2 separate regions of the Homo sapiens genome follow, and region 2 is linked to region 1. The links are contacts of gene promoters, found by promoter capture Hi-C in blood cells and fetal thymus (Javierre and others, 2016). All regions are on one chromosome and are shown on one strand. The core of a region is centred on a gene start or on the middle of the fragment in contact, and the rest is flanking DNA. Distances in the headings are between cores, read along the strand shown. Region 1 holds the start of SMC1A (structural maintenance of chromosomes 1A). Region 2 overlaps NBDY (negative regulator of P-body association).

The links. Contacts are between HindIII fragments. The CHiCAGO score rates a contact against its expected background, and 5 or more counts as called.
Region 2: a fragment that was not itself captured here is called in contact with the fragment with the promoter of SMC1A in region 1 in 1 of 17 cell types (fetal thymus); the score reaches 7.8 in fetal thymus.

Annotation. Positions count from the first base shown.
Region 1 is chrX:53,418,466-53,426,238 of GRCh38, forward strand. SMC1A (structural maintenance of chromosomes 1A) reads right to left here and starts at 4,189. Exons shown (of 25, transcript NM_006306.4): 1 at 4,027-4,189. The coding sequence starts at 4,135. RIBC1 (RIB43A domain with coiled-coils 1) reads left to right here and starts at 4,408. Exons shown (of 8, transcript NM_001031745.5): 1 at 4,408-4,539; 2 at 4,849-4,937. RefSeq lists enhancers at 3,346-4,320, 3,437-3,616, 3,737-3,786, 3,977-4,156, 4,321-5,292 and 1 more. The HindIII fragment of the contact is 3,638 bases long and covers 1,481-5,118 here.
Region 2 is chrX:56,796,075-56,803,847 of GRCh38, forward strand. All of the region lies in intron 2 of NBDY (negative regulator of P-body association), which reads left to right. Among named protein-coding and RNA genes, the nearest start is that of NBDY, 71 kb to the left of the region's middle. RefSeq lists enhancers at 4,800-4,869, 7,369-7,508. The HindIII fragment of the contact is 4,293 bases long and covers 776-5,068 here.

The sequences.
Region 1 (7,773 bases), core at 2,939-5,438:
ACTCTGTCACCCAGGCTGGAGTGCAGTAGCAGTATCACAGCTCTCTGCAGCCTTGACCTCCTTGGCTCAAGTGATCCTCCTGTCTCAGCCTCCCAAGTAGCGGGAAGCATGGGCATAAGCCACCATGCCCAGCTAGTTTTTGGATTTTTGCAGAAGCAGGGTCTCCCTATGTTGCCTAGGCTGGTCTCAAACTCCTGAGCTCCAGAGATCCTCCACCTTGGACTCCCAAAGTGCTGGGGTTACAGGCATGAGCCACCGTTCCTGGCCAAAAAATAGATATTGTTTTAAAAGTTTAGGCCGGGTGCAGTGGCTCATGACTGTAATCCCAGCACTTTGAAAGGCCGAGGCAGGCGGATCACCTGAGGTCAGGAGTTTGAGACCAGCCTGGCCAACATGGTGAAACCCCGTCCCTACTAAAAATACAAAAATTAGCCAGGCACGGTTGTGTGCCTATAATCCCAGCTACTCGGGAGGCTGAGGCACGAGAATCGCTTAAACCCAGGAGGTGGAGGTTACAGTGAGCTGAGATCGCGCCACTGCACTCCAACCTGGGCGACAGAGAGAGACTCTGTCTCAAAAAAAAAAAAAAAAAAAAAAAAGTTTAGTCGGGCTGGTGGATAAGGAGGAACAGTTTAGTCTCTATAATTTCTATCTCAAGACTGTCCCTAAAGAACTTATATATGACTTTGAACTGAAGATCTGATTTCCAACACCTTTCTACTCAGCCATAAAAACAGCAGCCCAAGTCCTTCCATAGAGACGGTATAAGACTATGATTAGGTTGGACACGGCATCTCACGCCTGTAATCCCAGCACTCTGGGAAGCAGACGTGGGTGGATCACTTGACCTCGGGAGTTTGAGACCAGCCTGGACAACATGGCAAAATCCCATCTCTACAAAAAATACAAAAATTGGCTCGGCATGGTGGCACACTCCAGTTGTCCTGACTACTGGGAAGGCTGAGATGGGAGGGTTGCTTGAGCCCGAGAAGTTGAGGCTGCAGTGAGCCATGATTGTGCCACTGTATGCCAGCCTTGGTGACAGAGCAAGACCCTGACTCCAAAAAAAAAAAAAATAGGCCAGGCGCGGTGGCTCACACCTGTAATCGCAGCACTTTGGGAGGCCCAGGTGGGCAGATCACGGGGTCAGGAGTTTGAGACCAGCCTGAACAACGTGGTGAAACCCCGTCTCTACTAAAAATACAAAAACTGGCCGGGCATAGTGGTGCACGCCTGTAATCCCAGCTCCTCAGGAGGCTGAGGCAGGAGAATAGCTTGAACCCGGGAGGCAGAGGTTGCAGTGAGCTGAGATCACGCCACTGCACTCCAGCCTGGGCGACAGAGAAAGACTTCATCTCAAAAAAAAAAAAAAGAAAAAAAAGAAAAGAATCACTTGAACCCAGCAGGCAGAAGTTGCAGTGAGCCGAGGTCATGCCACTGCACTCCAGTGTGGGCGTCAGAGTGAGACTCCATCTAAAAAAGCTTGCAAACTTGGGCTTAGAACCAACAGACCAGGTTCTAATCTTACTTTCACTACCACTTAGCTGACCTTCCATTCCCTCACCTGGAAAAAGATGAAAAAAACCACAATTCACGGGTCTAAAAATATGTGCGGCACATACTTCTCTATTGGAGTGGCAGGAGCACAGGCATGGGTTCTGAGAACCACGGACAAGTTATCACACCTCTGTGCCTTAGTCTCCTCATGTATAAAACGAAGCTATTGGCATTTTCCTCCTAGGGTCATTTTGAGAATTTAATTGTAAAGGGTCCCTTGGCTGGGTGCAGTGGCTCATGCCTGTAATCCCAGCACTTTGGGAGGCTGAGGCAGGCAGATCACTTGAGCCCAGGAGTTTGAGACCAGCCTGGCCAACTGGGAGAAACACCAACTCTACTAAAAATACAAGAACTAGCCAGATGGGGTGGCGCACGCCTGTAGTCCCAGCTACTTGGGAGGCTGAGGCACGAGAATCACTTGAACCCAAGAGGCAGAGGTTGCAGTGAGCCAACATCATGCCACTGCACTCCAGCCTGGACAACAGAGCAAGACTGTCTCAAAAAAAAAAAAAAAGAAAAGAAAAAGAAAAAGAAAAAACAGGGTCCCAATAAATAAAGTACTTGACACACAGAGTAGGTACTCAATTAATTAGTCCTATCCTAAGTCTGGACTCAGCTGTCTCCCTCATCACAGCAGGACTAGCACATCATGCAGACCAGGAGTCAGCCTTTTAGGAACCAATATCCAACCTTTGGGCTTCTCCCATCATTTCCAGGGAGGACAACATCATCTCACAACCCCAAGCCTCTCTAATCACAATCAATATGGTAAACATTTTTGTAATATATATTATGGACTGAACACCAGTAAAACGTTTCAAGGAATGTCTGCTTTAGGGTACTCACAGGCCAATGAAGATACAAAAACATGCACCATCAATATAGGACTTAATAAACATTAACGTGTACCAAGTGTCTACGGTATGCCACAGAGGAAGACTCACTCACCAAAGGGACTAAAGGAATGGCTTGTAGAGGTGGGCCTTGAAGAACGGGGGCAAGTGGGGGAGTGCCATAGCCCTTTTCAGAACAGCTGGGAATACAAATCTACTAATGCTGAGGGGACTGAATGCCAAGAGGTACATCCTAGCTCTTCCAACAGGGGCCACTACACTAAAACCCGAGGAAACTGGGTGGACACCAAGCATTAGCCCTCCAGGCCAGTGGTTCTCAAACAAGTTGGGGGGTTGGGGGAATCACACACACCCTCTGTGACATCTAGCAATGTCTAGAGACAGTTTTGATTGTCATGCCTGGGGAGCAGGGGTGCTACTGTTATCTAGCAGGTAGATGCCAGAGATGCTGTTAAACATCCTACAATGCACAGAGCACATCCCACAGCAAAGGATTATCTCGCTGGAAATGTCAATAGTGCCACTGTTGAGACACTCAGTCTCCAGGAAAGGTACTCAGTATGTGCTACTTCAGCAAGGGCAGCCTCTTAGGCTAGGATATCATTCAGCTAGAACATCTCTGGGGTGGAAGAATACAGCAGGATTCCAAATGGACATCTGAGGTGAGAGGAATCCACGGTGTATCGTTTAGAGTTGGGAAGACACAAAATAGAGGCTTTACCTGACCACCCTTTCTAAAGACACCACCTAAGTCACTTTATCACATCCACCTGTCTCATTTCCTGTATAGCACTTATGACAGCCTAAAACCATCTTATTTTCTCCTTATCTTCTTTCCCCTCTGGAATATAAGTTCCCTGTGAGCATGGAGTTGGTTTATTCTATTCTCCGCTGTTTCCACAACTTGCAACTGAATAACTCCTGATAAACAATAAGCATTCAACAAATTTGGTAAATTAGTTAATTTCGGCTTTTGACGGTTTCGGTGGTAGGAAAAGGGCGAGTTCGAGGCAACTACCTCTGACATAGCGGTGGGGGGTGGGGATCGACACCTCAAGCATTCTAAAGACTGGAGCGCTGGGTCTGAAATTCAAAAGTGCCGCCTCCAGAGAAGAGTAGAAAGGAGTTGGAGTGTACCAATGCGAGGCGAGAGAGGACGCTGGGCTGAAACAGAAGTGCACCGTTTGGGACCGAAGGCCACGGGAGAGCTACCAGCGTCCCCACATTCTCCGGAGGGGGTCAAGTAAGGCTGGGAAGCCGGCTCCGGCCGGTCCGGCGGGGAGCCGCGCGGCGGAGGACTGAGCTGGCGGGAAGCTGGTTCCAGACGCGACTCCTTTGGCGGGAGGGGGAAGTAGGCGGGGTAACTGGCAGCTCGGCCTGTACCACTGGGCCGGGGCGGGGGCCGCGCAGGAAGCGGCAAGTGACACCTGGAAGGGGTTCGAGTTAGAGCACCCGCGCGGGGAGAGTGGGTTCGAGCAGAACCCCCTCTGGACGGGCAAGGAACCCGTAAGGGTCCGCGACGTTTCAGGTTACATGGGCTGGGTTGTACTACTCCGGCACCGGATAAGGGGTCCAGGCCGGGACGTGCGCAGGGCCGCGGCCAGGTTTATCTCACCAGAGCCATTGGGTCCAATGATGGCGGTGAACCTCTGAAATGGTCCGATAATCTGTCGACCCTTGTACGACTTAAAGTTCTCAATCTCAATCAGTTTCAGGAACCCCATGACGGCCGCGGCGCCGGCGGCAGTAGGACAGGCCGCGCCGTACGCCCGAGAACTGAGGTAGCCCGCGCGGGAAACGCCGCAGTGCAAGCCGGGCGACCGGCAAATGTCGCGAGAATACGTCCAGGCCTAACGGGATTTTCGCCTTCCGGCAGGAGTGGGACCAGGGGCGGGGACTGATGTTGCGTATACGAGGAGCGAGCTGACGACTGGCGTGGTGCCTCCGCCCCCCTTTCTTGTTGCATGGCAACAACAAACACTTGCTCCTGCGGACCAGATCCCCGGAGGAGTTGTTGCTGGGCGGAGTCAGAGCAGTTCTTGAGGTTCAAGGAGGCGGGGGAGACCTGAGCTCACGCTTGCTGAGACAGAAGTCACAGCAGGATTATGCCCCTCAGGGCAAGAGGAAGGTGGGAGCTCGGCTGTGGCTTTAGCCTGGCCAGCTTTCAAGGCTAGGACAAGGACAGGGTCGGGAATTGGAAGGACCCGGGGGGAGCGGAGAGCTGGACGGGAAGGAGGGGCCAACGGGAGGATTCAGTGTTAGGTGAGCTCAGACTTTGCTAATGGTGGGGTGGGATTGGTGGCGGGACGGGTTGCGAAGGCGGACGGGTTGTGAATGGGACTGGGGCTACTCCCAGGCAACAGGGATACAGGCTGGGGAAGGCTACGGCCTGAGATACTACCCCTATCCCCTGCCTCCCTCCTGTTGTACCAAGCAGAGTTCAGAAACTGCCGCCGTAACCCAAGAACAAAGTTGCATGCAGAGCCAACCTAAGAGCTTCAAAATCGGGATTCCTTACTGAGAAAGGTATTTTGTGTGAACCCCCAGGAGTCAGGGTCCCTAAGCCAGCGCTCTCCACCTCCACCTACCTCTGCCTCCATGCCTCTCCCCCATCCCATTCCCACAGCTCTATACCACAATGCCACCTTACCTCTCTTCCCTCTCTGCTCTCTATCATTAATAAGGCAGGGGCCTTAGCAATCCAAGAAGCTTAAAATGTCAGCTGAATCTTCCCCTTCAGTGACCTTATACTGTAATGGCAGGTGAAACCAGTAGGTAAGTTGGTGCCATTCTCAGACTTAAACATGGAAAGGATCTGGTGGTTGCCATAATTATTCCTTTAACTATTTATTAAATTATGTCCGAAGGCTAGAAAGAGTCCTAAAGACTTAGGACAAGTCCAGGAAAGTGAGGAAGTGGCTGGGCATGGTGGCTGACAACTGTAATCCCATCGTGAGGGAGGCAGGCCAAGGCAGGAGGATCACTTGAGACCAGCAGTTCAAGACCAGCCTGGGCAACATAGTGAGACCCTATCTCTACTAAAAATTAAAAAATTAGCTGGGTGTGGCAGCTCTCACCTCTGGTCTACCCAGGATGCCGAAGCAGGAGGATCACTTGAGCCTGGGAGGTTGAGGCTGTAGTGAGTGGTGTCCGCACCACTTCACTCCAGCCTAGGTGACAGAGCAATACCCTGTCTCAAAAATAAATAAAGGGAGGAAGCTTGGTAGATGGAATCTAGTAGGGGAGCCATAAATGAAGTTCAGCTGGGAGAAACAATCAGGCTGAGGGGATAAAATGGCTAAAAGACAGCAATCTCATGTAATCCATGGGGAAATACTGTTCCCTTTTAAAAGATGAGATGGTGAGCCTGGGTAACATAGCAAAACCCAATCTCTACAAAAAAATTTTAAAAATTAGGCAGGCATGGTGGCACACACCTGTAGTCCCAGCTACTCAGGAGGCTGGGGCAGGAAGATCCTTTGAGCCCAGGAGTTTGAGGCTGCAGTGAGCCATGATTGCACCACTACACTCCATCCTGGGCAACAGAGAGAGACCCCATCTAAAACAAATTAAAAATAAAATAAATTTTATTCTCTGCCTCAGCCTTCCAAGTAGCTAGGATTACAGGTGCCCACTGCCACGCCTGGCTAATTTTTTTGTATTTTTAGTAAAGACAGGGTTTCACTATGTTGGCCAGGCTGGTCTTGAACTCCTGACCTCCTGATCCACCTGCCTCGGCCTCCCAAAGTGCTGGGATTACAGGCGTGAGCCACCGCGCCCGGCCAAAAATAAAATAAAATTTTAAATTTAAAAAAGATGAGATGGCACTTGGGGGGAAAATTAAATTGGATCCTTATCTCACACCATACACAAAATGCAACTCCAAGTGGATTAAAAACCTAAGTGACGCCGGGCACAATGGCTCATGCCTGTAATACCAGCACTTTGGGAGGCCGAGGCAGGAGAATTGCTTGAGTTCAAGACTAGCTTGGGCAATATAGTGAGACCCCATCTATATTAAAAAAAATTAAATGGGGCCAGGTGTGGTGGCTCATGCCTGTAATCCCAGCACTTTGGGAGGCCAAGGAGGGTGGATCATAAGGTCAGGAGATTGAGACTATCCTGGCTAACACTGTGAAACCCCATCTCTACTAAAAATACAAAAATCAGCCGGGCATATATGTTCAACTACTTCACAGTTACAAAATGGAAAACAAAACAAAACACCAAAAAGATCCAAATAGCTATAGGAGGAATTAAAGAATCACGCTCCAAACAAAGGAACAGCACATACAAAGGCCCCGGGGTGGGAACAATTACTGTGTTGGAGGACTTGATCAGCTTGCCTGGAGCACTGTAAGCAAGGGAGACAGTGGTTTGAGACAAATTGGAGAGGTGTGCAGGAACTAGATCTTGAAAGCCCACAGTAAGGAGTTTGGATCTGATTCTAAGTATAGTGGGAAGCTAGTGGAGGATTTAAGCAGGTGAGAGACATGATCAGATTTATGTTTGCTAAAGTTTTTTTGGCTGCAGCTTTGGCTGGGTTACATGCCAAAAGTGAGCTTCCCAAAATATGAAGGAACACAGGCAAATTTAGCTTTCTAGCCTTTCATTTGACCAGAAAATAAGTAATAAAAGTAAAAAAAAAAAAAAAAAAAAAAAAAAGGGTGGGGGGACATATATTTCAGAAAAGAAAGCTGCTTCTGGTTTCTGTGATTGGGCTATAGGAGTCAATAGAGGAAGCTGGAATACCAACATGGAGACAGTTGTGGTTATTCAGGAAGCTGGCAATGGTGGCTTGGATAAGGGTTATTTTGAAAGAAGAAGGAGTGAGGGAAAGGAAGGATTAAAGGATGTCTCCTAGGTTTTTGACCGGAGCAACTTGGTGAATGGTGGTGCCACTTACTGAAATAAGGAAAACTGAATAGAGTATAATGAAAAAGGAGTGTTGTAGATGTGTTTGAGGCTTAGAAAGGTGAGCAGGGGTCAGATCATGAAGAACCTTATAAATCTGGCAAAGGGGGTTGGGCCTTATAAGCACTGGGGAGCCATTGCTTTAAAGGTGCTTTCAAAGGCTTTACGCTGAGGAGTGCCATGGTCAGATTTGCTTCCCAAAGATCACTCTGGTAGCCAGTGCAGAGAAATCCAGTGCAGAGAGGGTAACGTTGGAGCAAGAGAACCCAGTGGGGCTCCTGAGATACTGCCTGACACCAGATTGTGAGGCCTGAATTAAGCTGGTGACAGCAGAGATGGAGGGCACAGATACGAAATATATCAGGAAGTAAAATCAGTAGGAATCAATAACTGCTGAAATATTATAGGGAGAAAGGAATGGGGGTGGCGTGTAGTCAAAGACGGTGGT
Region 2 (7,773 bases), core at 1,672-4,171, 3.4 Mb after region 1:
TCAGGTTTCCGGTTCCCTCTTCATCTTTCTTGTCCCTTTCTGTCTGACTTCCCAGTATTTGTTGGCATAATGTTCAGGATGGGGTTGGGGTGGGGGCAGCGGGGAGCAGGGCAGCCCCCTGGCCTAACAGGCCTCTGTGCGGATGTGGTGGAGATCTGGGATTATGGGACTGACTCTTTCTCCTGGCTGATGGCTCCCTCTCTGTGAGCCCACAGGAGGCCACTTGGGCTGCCAGCTGCCCACCTGGAGCACTCTGCATTCCAGTTCACTCTCAACTTCATTGCTCACTCTGATTCTTTGTGTAGTTTTGGAGGTTTTCTCCCTTCACTTTTTTCTTCTTTACTCTTTTTACTTTTCATTCACTTTTGTTTGGGGAGGTCAGGATCAGCCTGGAAGTCAGGGTCAACTGGGCTAGGGAACACCCTTAGGGAAAACAAACTTATTTTTCCTAAGGAAATTAGAAGGACCCCAGCTGATCCCTGCAAGGAGTGATTGGCATTTCCCTTTCCTTTCTGCCCTCTCTCCATATTGCCATTTGTGGCTGATTATCTCTTTTCCCTGATATATATTTCCTCCCCGTTTTTCATCTTCCTCTCTTTTTGGGGGTCCTTCCCTGCCTTGGCCTTGTAGGCTTGGGGCTCAGTGGTTCCTTGCAGTCTGCTGATGACATCCTCAGGGCACTGTTCAGCCTACACCTGTGTCTTCTGTAGCTCCTGCAGGACTATTTGTGGATCAAAGCTTTTGATCCCACTCAGGAAAGATCTCATTGACAAGAAGCTTCTCGGTTGTGTGTCCTTTAAGTGGGACATGACCGGTGGCTCCCTGCCACTCGTTGTGTATGTCATCACACATTCAGGTCCCCCTGAACTAGATCCTTCAGGAGAGCTACAGTGTCATGGACCTCCCACTTCCTATTCTTTTTCTCCTTCTGTTTCTTCTTCCTTTTCCTACTCCTGCTCCTCTTCTTTATTGTTCTTTTCCTCCTTTCCTCCTCCTCCTCCTCCAACTCCCTCTCCTTCTTCTTCTTTTTCTTTCCCTCTTCTTCTTTCTTCTTCTTCTTCCTCTTCTTCCCCTTCCCTCCTTCTCCTTCTTCTTCTTCCTCTTCCTCTTCTTCTCTCCTTCTTTCCTTTTCCTCCTCCTTCTCCTTCTTCTTTTCTTCTTTGACTTCTCTTTTTGCCTTCTTTTTCTTTCTCTCCTTCTTTTCTATTTCTCCTTCTACATCTTTTTTTCTACTTTTCTTCTCCTTCTTCTTCTACTTGTTCTTCTTTCTTTCCTTTTTTTTTCACTTTTGGATTTCTGCATGCAAATGTTCTAGCAGATTGCTTCTTCTTCTCCTTGGTGATGGGGAATGTCCTTCTGCAGCTCTAGGCCTCAAGAAATGCTTCACTTTTCTTCTTAAAAGAACAGCGATGAAGGTCACCAGTTCAGTCCTTCTTTTCCACCAAAAAGCTGTCCTCGTGTTACTTTTAAGTGAAATGTCATGGTAAACACACCCTGTACCTAGTACCTTATAGCCCACCATTCTTTCCTGTTCTCCTTGTGGACTCTCTAAATGTGTAAACCTGAGTCAGTAGGAGCCTCAGCAATTTGTTACATTGTTCCCCTATTGCCTTTCCTTCCAGTCAGGCCAGGTGAACAAAACGATACGGATTTCAGTGTGTACAGTCAGGCTGTCTCTGCCATGTGCCAATTTGCCCACTCTCACTCACACAAGCAGGAACTCACAGACCACAGACACAGAACACATGCACACACTCACAAGAAACCCCACAACCAGAAATGAAATTACAAAACCCATACACACATGGAGATACATGCAGATGCAGACACAAACACACATGCAGACACACACACGCAGGCACACTGACACATAAAGTCACACATACACAACCAGACCAATAAACAGGTAACCTCACATGGGCACAGGGGTTGGGGCTCAAGCATTCTCACACTTAGAGGTAAACAAACACACAAAGCCACAGGCATGAGACTGCCCACACTGTCTCATACGGGCTCTTAATCTCTGACAAGCAATGGGCTATGGGCAAGCATTCCTGGCTTCAGGCCTGGGTCCTCATGCCATTGATTGGGCAACTTGGCTTTCTCCCAAAAATGAATGCGGGCAATCTTTTATCAGAAAGGCCACAGCAGCAGATGTGAAACTGGAGCATCCTGGGTCAACCCGCTTAAAAACAGACTCCCCTTTCAGATAGAGGCAGAGAGAGTCCTGTTGGGATCCTTAGCCCTTTGTGATGTCATGGGAATCTGTGGCAACGTGGTGGCCTTTTTGAGTCCCCCTAAGCCACATCCTCCCACCCCTGCCTGTGTGAAAGCCAGGACAGCCTGTGCAGAGTCAGACTTGCACGAGTTGCTGAGTGTGCTTTCTAAGGGATACACCTGCCTCAGGTCCTGTGGCTCCCTGTTGAGCAGTCTGCCCGTTCTGGTGACCTCCATCTGCCAGCCCAAGGCGGTAAACTACCTAGAGCCTTTGGGAGGACTCCTAGTCCTGCAGTAAAACCTTGTGTAAGCCAGCTGAGTGACCAGCACCTTGTCTTGGAACGGCAGCCCTTTAATCCCAAGCCTCTTGTGTCCCAGTGCCCATGATTATCTGTCATTTGTCTTTTACTTTCTGCAGGAGCAGGAGACATGAAACCTGGAGAAGGCCAAAGAAGGGCAAAGACTGGCTGCCTAAACAGTATTCCTGCAGGGTCTCCAGCCTACTGGTCCTTGGTCATTGGGACCTGTGAGTTTTGGTGGTCAACCTGGGACCAGTTGGCTCGTTCCTTTCTCTCCCTCCTGTCTTTTTCTCGTTCTCCTTCCTATTTGCTTTTTTCACATTGGAAAAGGTGGAGGCCCTCAGGGTGGAGGAGCAGGGTTACAACTGTACTTGGCGTTTGTGGAGCCATAGTGCCATCAAGTGGAAATTGTTTCTGGAAATGGGAGGCACCTGAGCTCATGTGCTGAGGAACGCTCGGGAGTGCCAGACAGATGGTGGTGTGGAGCCCCCAGGCTGAAGCTGGGAGAGGAACTCCTGTCTGGCCCATGGTCTATGCTCATTCCCAGGATAGCGCCCTGGCTCCACAGCTCTCTTTGTAAGAATGGACAGGCAGGGGCGGCCCACCATGGGTTCCCCTGGCAGCCCCCAGAGACTGCTTGGCATGAGTTGCCCCACCCCAGCATCCCAAAACTTCTTTGTTCCCAGGGAGGATAGGGTGCCCCTGTCCCTGCGTGGCCCCAGCCAAGGGCACCCCTGAACTCTCCACAAAAGAGACCAGAGCAAATGGCCCCAGTCTCGGCAGTCAGTGAACAGTGGTTTCTCTTAAACCCATTTCAAGATGGGGAAGCTCCGCCCACTGGGCTGACTGGTCTTGGGGCTGCCAGACTGTTCTGTCCCCGGGCCTCTAGCTTAGCTGCTTCTTCATGGAGTTCCAATGGCAGGTACACTTCCTTAAGGGCTCTGAACCCCAGTGGGGGAAACCCTGGCTTGGGCCTAGTCTACCCAGCCTGGCACATCCTCGCTGATATCTGTGACTGGAAGAAGGCAAGTGTCCTTGTAGTCTGTTGTCAAGAAACACCTTCCGCCGGATGGCACTGTGACTCCACAAATGGCAATCACCCCTTTTCCTTCCTCCACTTTGCCTTTCTCTCCTTCCTTTTGCTGCCAACCAAACAAAACAAACACACACAAAAAAAACAAAGAAACAAAGAAACTGCCCAAGCAGCACCCACCTCATCTTCAACAGGGCTCCCCACCTATGTGGTTACTTTGGGGAAACTTGCAACAGTAGGAGTGATGTCTGCCTCTCCTACCCTCTGGATTCTTCTCTGGGCAGGGGGTCCCAGTAATCCAGAGGAGCCTATCCTCAAGAAATGCTATGCTTTTGCTGTGGATTTGTAGCACCGGGGGCAGTGTGAGGGGGTAAAGGGGGAGGGGTGTGTGGGTGTTTAGGCCTGTGTGTGGGCCGCTGCAGATTCTTCTATGAATCTGCACAGGTCTCCTCAGAAGGAGACTGGTGCCTGCCTAGGGAAAACATAGGAAGAAAAGAATGCAGGAAGATCTGGACTGTGTCCTTAGGGGTGGCAAGGTGACTTTGAGTGTCAGAAATCCTCATTTGTAATATTTAACTCCCATCTCATCTAACTTTTTTCCTGTCTTCATCTGTGCTTCTATATGTTCTCAGGCACATACATGCATCCCCACCAATACTCACTAAAAGGTGTCTGCCCAGGCACCTGTGCTCACACTCAGATCCCCACATCTAGGTAACTCTCAATGGGAAGGGTTCTTCAGCTTCCCGGTTTTCTCTTATTCATTTTTGTTCTCCCTTTCTGTCTGGCTTCCCAGTATTTGCTGGTGGAGTGTGTGGGATGGTGTGGGGGTGGGGGCAGTGTGGAGCAGCGCAGTCTCTTGGCTCCACTGGCCTCTGTGTGGACCCAGTACAAACCCTGGCCTAAGGGTCTGATGCTTTTCTCTGGTAGGTGACTCTTCTTGTACGAAGGCACAAGAGGCCATTTGGGCAGCCACCTTTCCACCTGGGATATCCTGCATTTCAGTTCACTCTCAACCTCATTGCTCACCCTGATTCTTTGTGTACTTTTGGAGTTTTTCTTCCTTCACTTTTTTCTTCTTCACTCTTTACTTTTCATCAATTTCTGGTTTAGGGAGTTCAGGATCAGCCTGCAAAAGCAGGGTCGGGTGGGCACAGGAATGTCCTTAGGGAGAGTAAGCCTACTTTTCCTAAGGAAATCAGAAGGACCCGGGCTGAACCCTGGGGGTGTAAGCAGCATCCCCCTCCCCTATCTGCCTTCTGTCAGTGTTGCCATAGGTGGCTCATTACCTCCTTTCTCTGGTATCCATTTCCTCCCCGTTTTACATCTCTCCTCCCACCCATTTCCGGGGTACTTCCCTACCCAGGCCTTGTAGATTAGAAGCCCGTGGCCCCTTGCAGTGCGCTGATGACATCTGGAGGGCATGGCTCAGCCTGCACCTCTGTCCTCTGTAGCTTCTCTAGGCCTACTTGTAGATCAAAGCCCTTGATACCACTCGGAAAAGAACCCATCAACAAGAAGCTTCTTGGTGTTGTGTCCTTTCACCGGGACATCACAGGTTTCTCTTTGCCTCTTGTTGTGTATGCCACCATGCAGTGAGGCACCCCTGAACTAGGTCCTTCAGGACAGCTGCTGTGGCGTGAAGCTGCCACTTCTTGTTCTTATTGTCTTTCTGGTTCTTCTTCCTCTTCCTCCTCCTCCTCTTTTTTCTTTTTCTTTTTCTTCTACTCCTTCTCCTTCTCCTTCTCATTTTTCTCTTCTTTCTTCTCTTTTTCCTTTCACTTTTGGCTCTTGGCGGGTCAAGCATTATACTGAGACTGCTTCTTCCTCTGCTCCTGGTGATGCAGGATGCCCCTTTGCAGAACAAAAGTGAGAAAGGCCTCATTTGTTCTTAAAGGAGCAGATATGAAGGTCACCAGTTCAGTCCCTCTGGTGTTCCACAAAGGCGCCAATGTGTTACTTTTCATGAAATGTCACCATGAACCCACCCCTTAACCTGTTCCTCATGGCTCACCATTCTTTCCCATTCTCTTTGTGGATGCTCTAAATGTGTAATCCTGAGCCAGCAGGAGCCTTGGCAAGTTGTCCCCCTTTGTCTTTTCTTTCAATCCAGCCATGTGAACACAACGATCCAGATTTCAGTGTGTATAGGCAGGCTGTCTCTCCCACGTGCCCATTTGCCCACTCTCACTCACACAGGCAGGCACCCAGAGACCACAGACACAGACACAACCACATGGACTCACAGGGAAACCCCGACAACCACAAATATAATCACAAACACACATGCACAGGGAGATACACACACAGACACAAAGACATACACTAACACATGCACACTCACAAACTCATAGACACACACACACACACACACACACACACACACACACACAAATCCTCACACAGGCCCAGGGGTGCGGGCTCAAGCATTCACCCACACAGACGCACACACACATGTGTCGCCATAGCCACCAGACTGCCCACGAACTCTCCCATAAAGGCTCTCAGTCGGCCACAGGCAATGGGCTATGGGTGAGGATTCCTGGCTCCAGGCCTGGGTCATTATGCTGTTGATTGGGCACCTAAGGCCTTCTCCTGAGAATGAATGCGGGAAGTCTGTTATCAGATAAGCCCCAGCAGCCAGTGTGAAACTGGAGCCTCCTGGGTCAACCTGCTTAAAAAGGGACCACACCTTGGGTAGAGGCAGACAGTCCCCTTGGGACCCTTGGCCCTCTGTGATGCCATGGGAATCTGTGTTGCGTGGTGGCCTTCCCCAGTTCCCCTAAGCCACCCTCATGTCACCCCTCCCCCCCACCCCATGTGAAAGCCAGGACAGCCTGCACAGAGTCAGACTTCAGTCAGTTGCTGAGTATCCCCTCTGAGGGAGATTCCTGCCACACGCCCTGTGACTGCCTGTTGAGCTGTTCGCTCATTTTGGTGACCTCCATGTGCCAGCCCAAGGTGGTAAACTCTATCTGGAGCTCCAGGCTTTGGGAGAACCACCAGTCCTGCAGCAAAACCTTGGGTAATTCAGCTGGGTGACCAGCACCTTGTCCTGGGGCGGCAGCCCCATGATCCCAGTCTTCCTGTGGTTTCCCAGTGGCCATGATTATGTATCATTTGTCTTCTATTTTTCTGCATGAGCATGAGCCATGAAACCTGGAGAGGGCCAAAGGAAAAGCAAAGGCTGGCGGCATAAAGAGGATTTCCGCAGTGTCTCCTGCCTACTGGTCCTAGGTCGTAGGGTCCCTTAAGTTTGGTGGTCAACCTGAGACCAGGTGGCTGGCTCCTTTTTATCCTCCCTGTCTTTTTTTTGTTTCTCTTTCCCTTTTCTTTTTTTCACATTGGAAAGGGTGGAGGCCGTCGGATTGGAGGGGCAGGGTTAAGCTTGTAGTTGGCCTTTGTAGAGCCATAGTGCCATCGAGCGGAATCTGTTTCTGGAAACTGGAGGCAGCTGGGCATGAGTGCTGGAGAAATCCCAGGAGCACGAAAGAGATGGTGGCGGTGTGGGGCCCCCAGGCTGAAGCTGGACGAGAGAGGAACTCCTGGCTGGCCCTTTGCCCTTGCTCATTACCAGGATGGCACCCGGGCTCCACAGCCCTCTCCGAAAAAAGGGCAGGAAGGGGCGGCCCTCCATGGGTTCCCCTGGCCATCTCCAGGAATTGCCGGGCAGGAGTCGTCCCGCCCACAGCACCCCACAGCTCCTTGGTTCACTGGGAGGATAGGGGACCTCTGGCCCCAGCGTGATTCCAGGCAAGGGCACCCCAGAACTCCCCACAAAAGAGACCAGTGTAAACGACCCCAGTCTCGGCCGTCAGTAGTCAGTGGCTTCCCTTAAGCCCACCTCAAGATGGCTGCCAGGGCACCTCCGCACTCTGGACTGACTGGTCTTGGGGCTGCCTGGCTGCTCTGTCCCTGGGCCTCTAGATTAGCTGCTTCTCCGTGGGGTCCAAATGGCAGGCACACTTCCTTCAAAGGTTTAAAACCGCGATGGGGGAAACTCTGGCTTAGTCAGAGTCCACCCAGCCCGACATATTCTCGCTGAAGTCTGTGCCTGTCAGAAGGCAAGTATCCCTGCAGCCGGTCGTGTTCAGAAACAACTGCCGCTGGATGGCAGTGTGGCTCCAGAAATGGCAGTCACTTATTTCCCTTGCTTTTCTCTTTCTCCTTTTGCTTCCAACAAAACAAAACAAAACAAAAAGAAAAGAAAGAAAGAAAGAAACC